Regions from separate parts of the Homo sapiens genome. Here all the other regions are linked to region 3. The links are contacts of gene promoters, found by promoter capture Hi-C in blood cells and fetal thymus (Javierre and others, 2016). All regions are on one chromosome and are shown on one strand. The core of a region is centred on a gene start or on the middle of the fragment in contact, and the rest is flanking DNA. Distances in the headings are between cores, read along the strand shown. Region 1 holds the start of MIR210HG (MIR210 host gene). Region 2 holds the start of DRD4 (dopamine receptor D4). Region 3 holds the start of BET1L (Bet1 golgi vesicular membrane trafficking protein like).

What was found. Contacts are between HindIII fragments. The CHiCAGO score rates a contact against its expected background, and 5 or more counts as called.
Region 1: a contact is called between the fragment with the promoter of MIR210HG here and the fragment with the promoter of BET1L in region 3, in 4 of 17 cell types (naive CD8 T cells, total CD4 T cells, fetal thymus and 1 more). The highest score is 6.6, in naive CD8 T cells.
Region 2: a contact is called between the fragment with the promoter of DRD4 here and the fragment with the promoter of BET1L in region 3, in 7 of 17 cell types (total CD4 T cells, fetal thymus, monocytes and 4 more). The highest score is 7.2, in total CD4 T cells.

The regions. Positions count from the first base shown.
Region 1 is chr11:566,923-569,833 of GRCh38, reverse strand. MIR210HG (MIR210 host gene) reads left to right here and starts at 1,377. Exons shown (of 2, transcript NR_038262.1): 1 at 1,377-1,482; 2 at 1,981-2,911. It overlaps MIR210 (microRNA 210), which reads left to right and starts at 1,636; the gene lies at 1,636-1,745. RefSeq lists an enhancer at 1-445. The HindIII fragment of the contact is 23,407 bases long and covers 1-2,911 here.
Region 2 is chr11:635,906-638,705 of GRCh38, reverse strand. It overlaps DRD4 (dopamine receptor D4), which reads right to left and starts at 1,437. Exons shown (of 4, transcript NM_000797.4): 1 at 1,117-1,437. The coding sequence starts at 1,401. RefSeq lists enhancers at 1-481, 482-1,016, 1,017-1,550, 2,086-2,619, 2,620-2,800. The HindIII fragment of the contact is 12,616 bases long and covers 1-2,800 here.
Region 3 is chr11:206,149-209,265 of GRCh38, reverse strand. It overlaps BET1L (Bet1 golgi vesicular membrane trafficking protein like), which reads left to right and starts at 1,867. Exons shown (of 4, transcript NM_001098787.2): 1 at 1,867-1,963. The coding sequence starts at 1,945. RIC8A (RIC8 guanine nucleotide exchange factor A) reads right to left here and starts at 1,558. Exons shown (of 10, transcript NM_001286134.2): 1 at 328-1,558. The coding sequence starts at 411. RefSeq lists enhancers at 352-971, 947-1,116, 972-1,593, 2,140-2,641, 2,952-3,117 and 1 more and silencers at 176-285, 356-645, 646-844, 1,906-2,025, 2,136-2,195. The HindIII fragment of the contact is 6,341 bases long and covers 1-3,117 here.

The sequences.
Region 1 (2,911 bases), core at 128-2,627, 360 kb before region 3:
CCCCAATAGAACCGAGTGGCTCCGTGATCCTCTGGGCACCTTCCCCATCCACAGGCAGCCACAGGTGCAAGGAGCCACTCGGTTCTATCGGGGGCCAAGGGTCAAGGGGTCAGCAAGACCTCGGTCATGTCTTGCTGATCATGTCTGAGTCACCCCAGACTCTGCATCTGAATTTTTGTCCCCAGCCTTCAAGCCCCTGAGGACATGGGCTGGTTCGGAAGCTCCCTGGGGCCCCAGCACTTTGCCGCCGGGGCTGGGGCAGGGGGCAGGCTGCGGCCCAGGCCTGCGCGGATGCCGAGGCAGGGAGGTCATGGGGCCAGGGGAGGACAAAGAGCAGGGCGGTGAGTTTAGGGCCAGGGAGCTGAGGGGAGACGGCCCGGGGCCGAGGACCAGGGTGACAGTGCCAAGGGGGGCCGGCGGCCAAATCTCCTTTGGCTGCCACTTTGGAGCCCCACCCCGGAGTCCGATACTTCCACGTCTGAAGCTGGCCCTGCGAGTCCTAACGAAGGTCAAACCGTCAAGGCTCCTTTGATTTTACACGTTTTCAGCGCACAGACAGGATTCTCTCGCCTCGTCCCCTCAAAGACCGGCACAGGGCTGCGAAGACCCCTGAGCCCTTGAGGCACCCCCTCCAGGCTCCAGAGGCTTCCGCGGAGACAGAGCGCGCAGGAGGGACCCAGAGCCCCCAAGGGCGCCCCGTGGGGGTCGCCAGGCAAACCAGGCAGAGCCAGAGCCCCCTCTTCGCCAGCAGGACGGACCCGGGCGTCCTTTGGGGACCCCAAGCCGCCCGGGGGGTGGTGCGTGCGTCCCGAGGACGCCGTGTCCGGGCCCGCGCAGGCCCCACCCGGGTCACGGCCCGGGATACGTGCGCCGGGCGCCCAGCGGGTTGGGGGGGGCGGGCCCGCGGGACGCGGGTGCGGGGCACGGAGGCGGCCGGGTCGTACCACCGCGCCGCGGGAAGAGGGGCAGCTCCCGGCCGGCCCTGCCGCCCCACGCACACCCGCGGGCGGAGGACCCGTCGCCAGGCTGCGCCCCACGCCCAGCCCGGAAGCCCCGCGAGCCCGGGCCATACCACCGCGCGGCGGGAGGAGGACCACCTCGGGCCGTACCATCCGCCCGGCCGGGGGACGCGCCCTGGCCCCGCCGCGCCCTCGCAGCTGGCGCCCCGCAGGCCCCGCCCGGCAGGTGCCGCCCCTCCCCGGGCAGACGTGCAGAAAAGAACGCGCCGGCCTCGCCCGCGAAGGGCCGCGCGGCGGTGGGCGGGGCGTCGCGAACCCCCCTCGCGCCCACTGGCTGCGTTGCGGTAGGGCGGGCCCGGCTAGGCCGGCCATTGGCTGAGGGACCAGGTCATTTGCATACGGGGCTGGGCGTGGAGCCGCGGGGCCCGGGGCCGGTCGGGTCGGGCCGGGGGGCGAGAGGGTGCCAGCGGCCGCAGCTGAAGTTGGGCCGAGAGCCGGCGACGGCCCCGCGCCGGGGTCGCAGGTGACGCGCGAGGGATCCCAGGTTGGCGGGCGGGGCGCCCCTCAGAGGCCGCCCTCCCGCGGGGGCTGCGGGGGGTCGGGCTGGGCAGGCGCGGCGGGGCTCGGACGCCCAAGTTGGAGGGGACGGGGGTGGGGTCAATCCCTCCGCCCGCCCACCCGGCAGTGCCTCCAGGCGCAGGGCAGCCCCTGCCCACCGCACACTGCGCTGCCCCAGACCCACTGTGCGTGTGACAGCGGCTGATCTGTGCCTGGGCAGCGCGACCCTCCTGGCCCCGTGTCCGGGTCTGGCGGGCAGGCGAGCGGCCACACGGGGACGCGAGGGCAGCTGGATACCGTGGGGAGGGGGTGCCCTATGGACGGGGTGTGCCTGTCTGGCCAGCAGGGACGGCGGGTGGGGGTAAGCGAAATCATTCGGGGGCTTTGCTGCCCTCCGCTTGGTGGGGCTGAGGCTGGGCCAGATACCCTCTTGGAGGGAACTTTCTTTTCCTTGTGTGTCCAGGGTACCAGTGTGCGGAGTTCCTGTTGCCAAGCTGAAGGTGGCCCTGGGCAGGCACAGGTGTGGTCATATCTTCAGCCAACAGGACCATCCTCCGGAGGGCCACCTCTGGGGACTTCCTACGGGAAGAGAGTGACAGATTTGGTGCTTCTGTGTGTTTCTGCCGCTTCAGTGGGGCCGCTGCGGGAGACAGCGGGTGGATCCTCCAGCAGCCTGTCTGCTGAGCCTGCCTTCTCAAGTCTACTGTTAAAATCAGGACCGGGTCGTGTCCGAGCCTACAGGCCCTGTCTCCGCTCCCCAGGCCTGCAGGAGTTGAGGGCTGCACCTGCTCGCTGGAGAGGGAGAGGCAGATTTAGTGGACGCCTGGCATGGACTCGGACTGGCCTTTGGAAGCTCCCTGCCCTGACGGGGTTGCCTGTCACCACTGCGAAGTGAGGCTTGGCAGGACCTGCACCTGAGAAAGGCTGTGTGTGGTCTTGGGGTCCACACCTGCAGAGCTAACTTACTGCCAGACGGCGACTTACTGTGGGCCACCCTCAGTGAACCGGGGTGTCCTCAGCTGGCCCTACAGAGCACTTCTGTGCTGGGGATGAGTAGGAACTCTGGGCGAGGAGGGTCCCAGCGCCGCCCCTCGATACAGCCTGGCTCTGCCCTCTGCCCGTACTTACACCAGGTGGGATCCCTGCCCTGCATTGCCTGGGGATTGGCTGGGCTTGGGCCCGCCCTGCTGTGGAACTGGATGTTTTCAGGGAGCCCAGCCTTTCCTCATGTCAACACAGTTCACAATATAGTTTTCAAAGTACAGTTTAAAACTCAAAAGTAAACTTTTCAGCAACTCAAAGGTTTGCTGAGTGATCTGAAGCACTCTGGCCACTTTTTGGGGCCATGGGATTTGGTTCACCTGAAACAGCCAGTGAGAGGCCGGGTGTGGTGG
Region 2 (2,800 bases), core at 188-2,687, 430 kb before region 3:
GGTCCCCGCTGGGCCTAGAAGCGAAGCTGGCTGCTCTGTTGGCTAAGTTCTCTGTGGGAGACTCGGGCACGTTAATTCATTTCTGTTTCTTCATCTGTAAGACAAGGGTGATGATAGTATCCACATCATAATTGTCTTGAAGATAAATTATAATTAAAAATATGAAGACCGTGCCCAGTGCCCAGCGTAGGACTCCACGTGGAGTGACTCTCTCCAAGGGCAAAGGAGCAGGCAGCCCCTCTAATCCTTCCCGCCGATTTGGGGAGATTAGGAGCTTAAACGTCGTCACTGTGACGTCTGCGGCTCGAAAGGAGCACAGGTCACGCGTGTCCCGTGCTGCTGGTCTCTGCCCCAGCCGCCTGGATTCACTGTGTCCATCAAGGGGAAACCTCGAGTCCCCCTCCCCCACAGTCGGGGACACCGCGTCTCCAGCTCAGCCCTAAGCTGCTTTTCTCTGGCCGCAGAGGGGCTGGCACCAAGGCCGACCCACTCGAGGGCCAGACCTGGTGTGGAGTGTGGGCTCCATCCCCCAATTCCCCCTCAGGCTTCCCCCCAGGGTTCTCAGCAGGGGCCTGGTCCCCACACACCCTCCCCTCCCCTGGGTTTTGTCCAGCCCAGGTCTCCCCTGCGAGCTGTGAGCCTCCTTCTGGGGGTGTGCCAGCATCTGCACTAGGTGTGTGTGGTGGGCAGTGGCTGTGGCAGTGTGTGTGTGTGTGTGTCCCACGGCAGCCAGGGGGCTGAGCCTGCATCTGCCTGTCTGTCCAGCTGGCTGCCCTGGAGGTGAAATCCAGCTACGGAGGGGACTGGGCTTGACAAAGTCGCCTGTTTCCGGGGTCCCTGGATAGAAGGACGGGCATCTCCTGGATAACAGACGCCAAGACAGACGGGGAAGGAGAAGAGGAACGAGGGTCGGGGGACAGACAGCGCAGCGGGTGGAAGGTCGCGAGGTGGCGGCGGTGGGTGTATCGCCGAGGGACAAGGCGCAGCGCCCCTGCCGCCGCCCCAGCTGGAAGCTCCGCACCAGAAAGGGGCCGGGTCGCGCCGGGTCCTCCGTAGGGACAGGGACGGGGAACCGAGGAGCAGGTGAGGATGCTCGTGCGGCCGGACGCGGCTCACCTCGGAGTAGACGAAGAGCGGCAGCACCAGGAGAGCGAGGAGGAGGTCGGCGGCCGCCAGGCTCACGATGAAGGAGTTGGTGGGCGTCTGCAGGGCGCGCTCGGTGGCCACGCTCACGCACACGAGCGAGTTCCCCGCGAGCACCGCGCCGATGAGCAGCACGCCCCCCACCAGCGCCGCCGCGCCCTGCCCAGCCAGCCCCGCAGATGCCCCCGCAGATGCCCCCGCGGCCGGCCCGCGCCCAGCCAGCAGCCCGTCCGCGTCCGCGGTGCTGCGGTTCCCCATGGCGCGCCCGGGCGGGCGCTGAGCACCGCGGACAACGCCGGGTCGCAAGCCGGGGAGTCCCTCCCCTCGGGCACGCCCCGGCCGGACCCTGGTCCCGCCCCCGACCCGCCCCGGCTCAGGGGGGCCCCCGCGGCGCTCCACCGTGAGCCCAGTATTTGCTCATCTTGGAATTTTGCGCAGGGAGAGACGGGCACGTGGACGAATGCGGCGGCCCAAAGAGACGGGAATGAAGCGAGGTGGTGGCCACGGGCAGGCCAGCATCGCCCGGCGCCGCGCGGGGTCCGCGACCCGAGAAACCGACAAGGATGGAGGGGCGGCCAGACCAGGCCCTGAAGCGCGCGGGCATCGACGCCAGCGCCATCCTACCCGGCCCGTGCGTGCGTCCCGGCCCTCGGGCGCTCACCCTAGTCCACCTGGTATCTGGCAAAACCTCCCTCCCAGGCCCGTTCCGCCAGACGCAGAAAGACCTGAGCTCAGGCTCTGCCCGCCTCCCCCGCGGACTCGCCTCGACCTCGTGCGCACCCTCCACGCCCGCTCCCCCTGCCCCCGACTCCGCGCCCGACTCAACCGCCGACGCCTAGCTCATCCCGCCGCCCCCCCCCCGCAGCCTCTGGCCCTCAGCCCCCGCGACCACCACGGTCAGCCGCGGCCCCACCCGTTGCACAGTTGATCCTCGCGTGGCCGCCTCCGAAACTGGGCGGACAGCTGAGCGGTCGACCCCGCTCCCTCCTCCATTCCCTCCGGCCCAAGACCGTGAGCTAGGTAGGCGCCCCTCTGACCCTGGGCAGGGGGTCCCGGGACCGGACAGTAGGTTCGGCTCGCGAGGAGGCCAGGAGAAAGACACGACAGGCCGGGGTAGGTTCCAAACGTGCAGAAGAGAAAGTGCTTGCAAAGCGCAGCAGAGAATTCTATGGACTCTTCACCAAAGAGGGGTGACCTGTGACCTGAGAGGTATTTTCTGTAGTCTGTCACTAAGGGGCCTAGAAGACACTAAAAGGGGGCACCACTCTGTGGGACCCCAGGCGGCGCACATCCTGATGCTCTAGTCTGTTTCTGGGAGGCCTGGAGTGGAGGGGCTGTGCCAGGAATTGAGGCCCCTGACCTCGAAGGTCTGGAGGACACGGGCTAGACGGAGGCGCTGACAGGGCGTGCGTTAAAGGGAGAAATGAGGACTCTGAGAAGGAGCAGGCACCGTGAGCCTCACAGGACAAGGTCACGGGGCTGCGGGGGAAGGGCCTGCACCAGGGACAGGTGTGCACAGGCATCAGGTGCGGCCGCAGCCAGGCTCAGTCCCTCTTGTGCAGATCAGTCTGCTGCCCTTGTGAACCCTTGAGCAAAAGAAGTCACCACAGGAGAGACCACCAGGGACAGGTGTGCACAGGCATCAGGTGCGGCCGCA
Region 3 (3,117 bases), core at 618-3,117:
GAGAGAACTAGTGAATTCAAATCCACAGAGGGGTAGGATCCGCGTCCGCTGATGCGGGCGGCCTATTGGCCTCTAACTCAGGCAGCAGCCACTGCTCAGAACGGATGGCAGGGTCGGCACTCGCCCCCATCCCTACACGCCTGCCACCCAACGGGTGCACCCCCACTCTCCCCGCAACACTGCATCCCAGACCTGCCCCCCGCACCCCGCCGCGTCCCCTACGCTTGCTGACACAGCCTCTGCCTCACCCACGCCCTCCCTGCTACCCGCGCACGACCCTGCCCCACCCCCTCCGTGCCCGCCCCCCGGCCTCAGGCGGCCGCTTACCTCCTGGTTGTATGACCGCAGAGCTTCCATAATCACATCCTCCTCACCCGTCTCCACGGCTTCTGCAACCGCCCGGGGCTCCATGGCGCGCCGGGGAAGGCGGGACGGGCCCTTCCTCAGCCGTTCCGGGCCGCAGTTCGCCGGCCCCGCCCTGGCCCAGAAAGCCCCGCGCCAGCGCGCGGGGGAGGCCGGGACGGGGCGCGGCGTCTGGTGGCGCTTTAACGGGGCGCAGCGTCTGGTGGCGCTTTAAGGGGGCGCGGCCTGAGGCAGAACTGGCGGCTCGGAGGTTTTAAGACCCGAGTCGAGGGGCTGAGTCGCTCTGAACCGAACTGACCCCTCTCCTTGTGACCCGCGCTTCTTGGGCCAGAAGTTCCAACAGGAAACGATCTCAGCCCCCACCGTGCCCTGCCACACACACAGTGACGCCCCTCGAGCTCCACAGAACCGATGGGATGTAGAGGGGAAAGCCGAAGTGGAAAGGAATTTTCAGTCCTGGGCCATTGGGTTCGTTAGGCGTTTGCTGGGGAATGCAGGCGAACGGGATTCCCAGGTCCCTGCCTTTGTGGAGCTTATGTTCCAGAGGGGAAGGGGGACAAGGAAAAACAAAAGGACACGAGGCGGTCACAGGGCTGTGCTTCAAAAGAAGCAAAAGGCGACTGCTGGGCTGCAACGGGCTGTGAGGAAGTGCTGTTTTTGCTGACACCGGACGGTGGGAAGTGAGCCGGGAAAAGACTGGAGGAGCCACTCCAGGCAGAAGGAGCAGCACTTGCAAAGGTGGAGGGGCCGAGAGAAAGGGGAGCAACCCAGTCTGGCCTGGACTCAGTTCCCTCTTGAAAAGCAAAGATCCTGCGTGTCCGTTTCAGTGGCCGTCATGAGGATTCAGTGACGCACAGGAAGCGCGATCCACTCGCTCTTCTAACAAGTGCCCGGGAGCAAAGGCGTCTACGGCCCCCAGTCCCCGCGCCGCCTCCCAGTCTCTCTCCCGGCTTCACTTTCCTGTAGTGCGTTCTGTACGGCTGTATTCGACGCGGCGCGCACTCGCAGGCACGAGCGAGGCGCCGATCTCCACTTGACAGAGGAGGCACCCCTGCCCCCACCACACCCAGTGCTCCTCGCGGGCTTCTGCCCGAGGGGTCTGCTCCTTCCTCATGACCCGCCTGTGAATCCTTCCTAACCGTTAGGACCTAACCCACAGAAGCGTCTTTCCACCACCATCGTCTAGGCACTGAGCAAGCAAACGGCCCCGCCCCGCCCCACGTTCACAGGAACACCAAACGTCACATCCGCGGTGCTGCTGTAATCCCAGCACCTTGGGAGCCCGGCAGGCGGGGGCTGCAGTGAGCTGAGATCGCGCCACTGTCTGCGCGACAGTGCTGAAAATAAGCCACAGATATGCCCATCGCTTCCGCGCCCGGCAGTTCCCCACCCTCGGCCCTAAGCCGGAAGTCAGCGAGCCCGAAGCGGAAGGGGCTGGGCTATCTAGGGGCGTGGTCGGTGCGGAGGCGGGGCCATCGCTAGCTGGGGGCGGGGCCGGAAGCTCTTTCCCCGCGACTGCGCCACGTCTGAGGCGGCTGTGGCCGCGTCGGTGTCCGCGTCGAGGAGCCGGGGCAGGGCACGATGGCGGACTGGGCTCGGGGTGAGCGCGGGAGAGCGGAGCCGTTGGGGGCAGGGCCGGGCCGAAACCGACGCCGCTGCCTGTAGAGCCGCGTGCGCCTGCCTCTGGCCCAGCTGGGGTGACCTCGGCCGAGAGGACCCTGTCAGGGGGGCGGATTCGGATCCTTCCGGGTCCGAGCAGGGCCGGGTTTCGGCCGGCACTGCCGTTAGGACCGAAGGCGCGCGTGGCGGCCCAGCAGCTCCAGCGAGGGGTCGCGCAGCAGCGGGGTCTCCCCACTCCCCGCCGCCCCCTGTGAGATCGTTCTGCATGGGTTCGGGGTGAGCGGGAGTCGGCATTCGACAGGTCCCGAGGCCAGGCCCTAGGAGTAGAGGCTGTGCTCCGCTGGTGTCCAAGCAGGACTCTTACTTTGGCCTCGGTGGCCCCATTTCCCCTCCTGGAGCCCGTGTTCTTGTCTGCAAAGTGGGATATTGATGCCTGTCTCTGTGAGGTGTTATGATGATTAAAGGAATTTATAAATATGAAGTGGCTGGAAGGACGCTGGCATCCCTTCCTGACACTGAAGCTAGGGAGGAGGTGGTTCTCACGCACCTGATGTGACAGAACTTCCTTATCCCCTGGCCCAGCCTGTCACAGGCCAGGCCTCTGCGAGCACTCTGCCCTGGGTGTTGCAGGAAGCCCCATGCGGGATGCAGACCAAGGATCCCGCTCCTGGTCGACCTCAGCTCCCGTCTCGGGGAAATTGGGAACTTTGCTCAGCCATTTTCTGTGCGGTAAAGGGCCTTCCCAATGTTCTGTCCTGGTTCCTTGCCACCTCTTCAGGACCTAGCTCAAAGGTCGTCTCTGCAGGAGCCTTTCTGCTGCCTTGCTGGGTACTTTTCCCAAGTCTTTTCTATGCTCTTAGCAGAGTTTACTCTTTTTCTATAAGAATGGGCTCCACATACACAGATGGTGACCTCCCTGGATGCAAGTGTCACATCATACTAGCACCCCAGGGCTGGGTCCAGTTTTTGCTACACAGTCTCAGAAGGTGCTGGTTGGACCGAACCCATTGTGGGTGCTTGCCCATCCCCACCTTGATGTGTACACAGGACATGTGTTCACATGACAGGCCCTTACACACATCGTCCTTTATGCAGCCTGTCTCATGTGCAAGATTCACCTGCTGGAACCTTGGT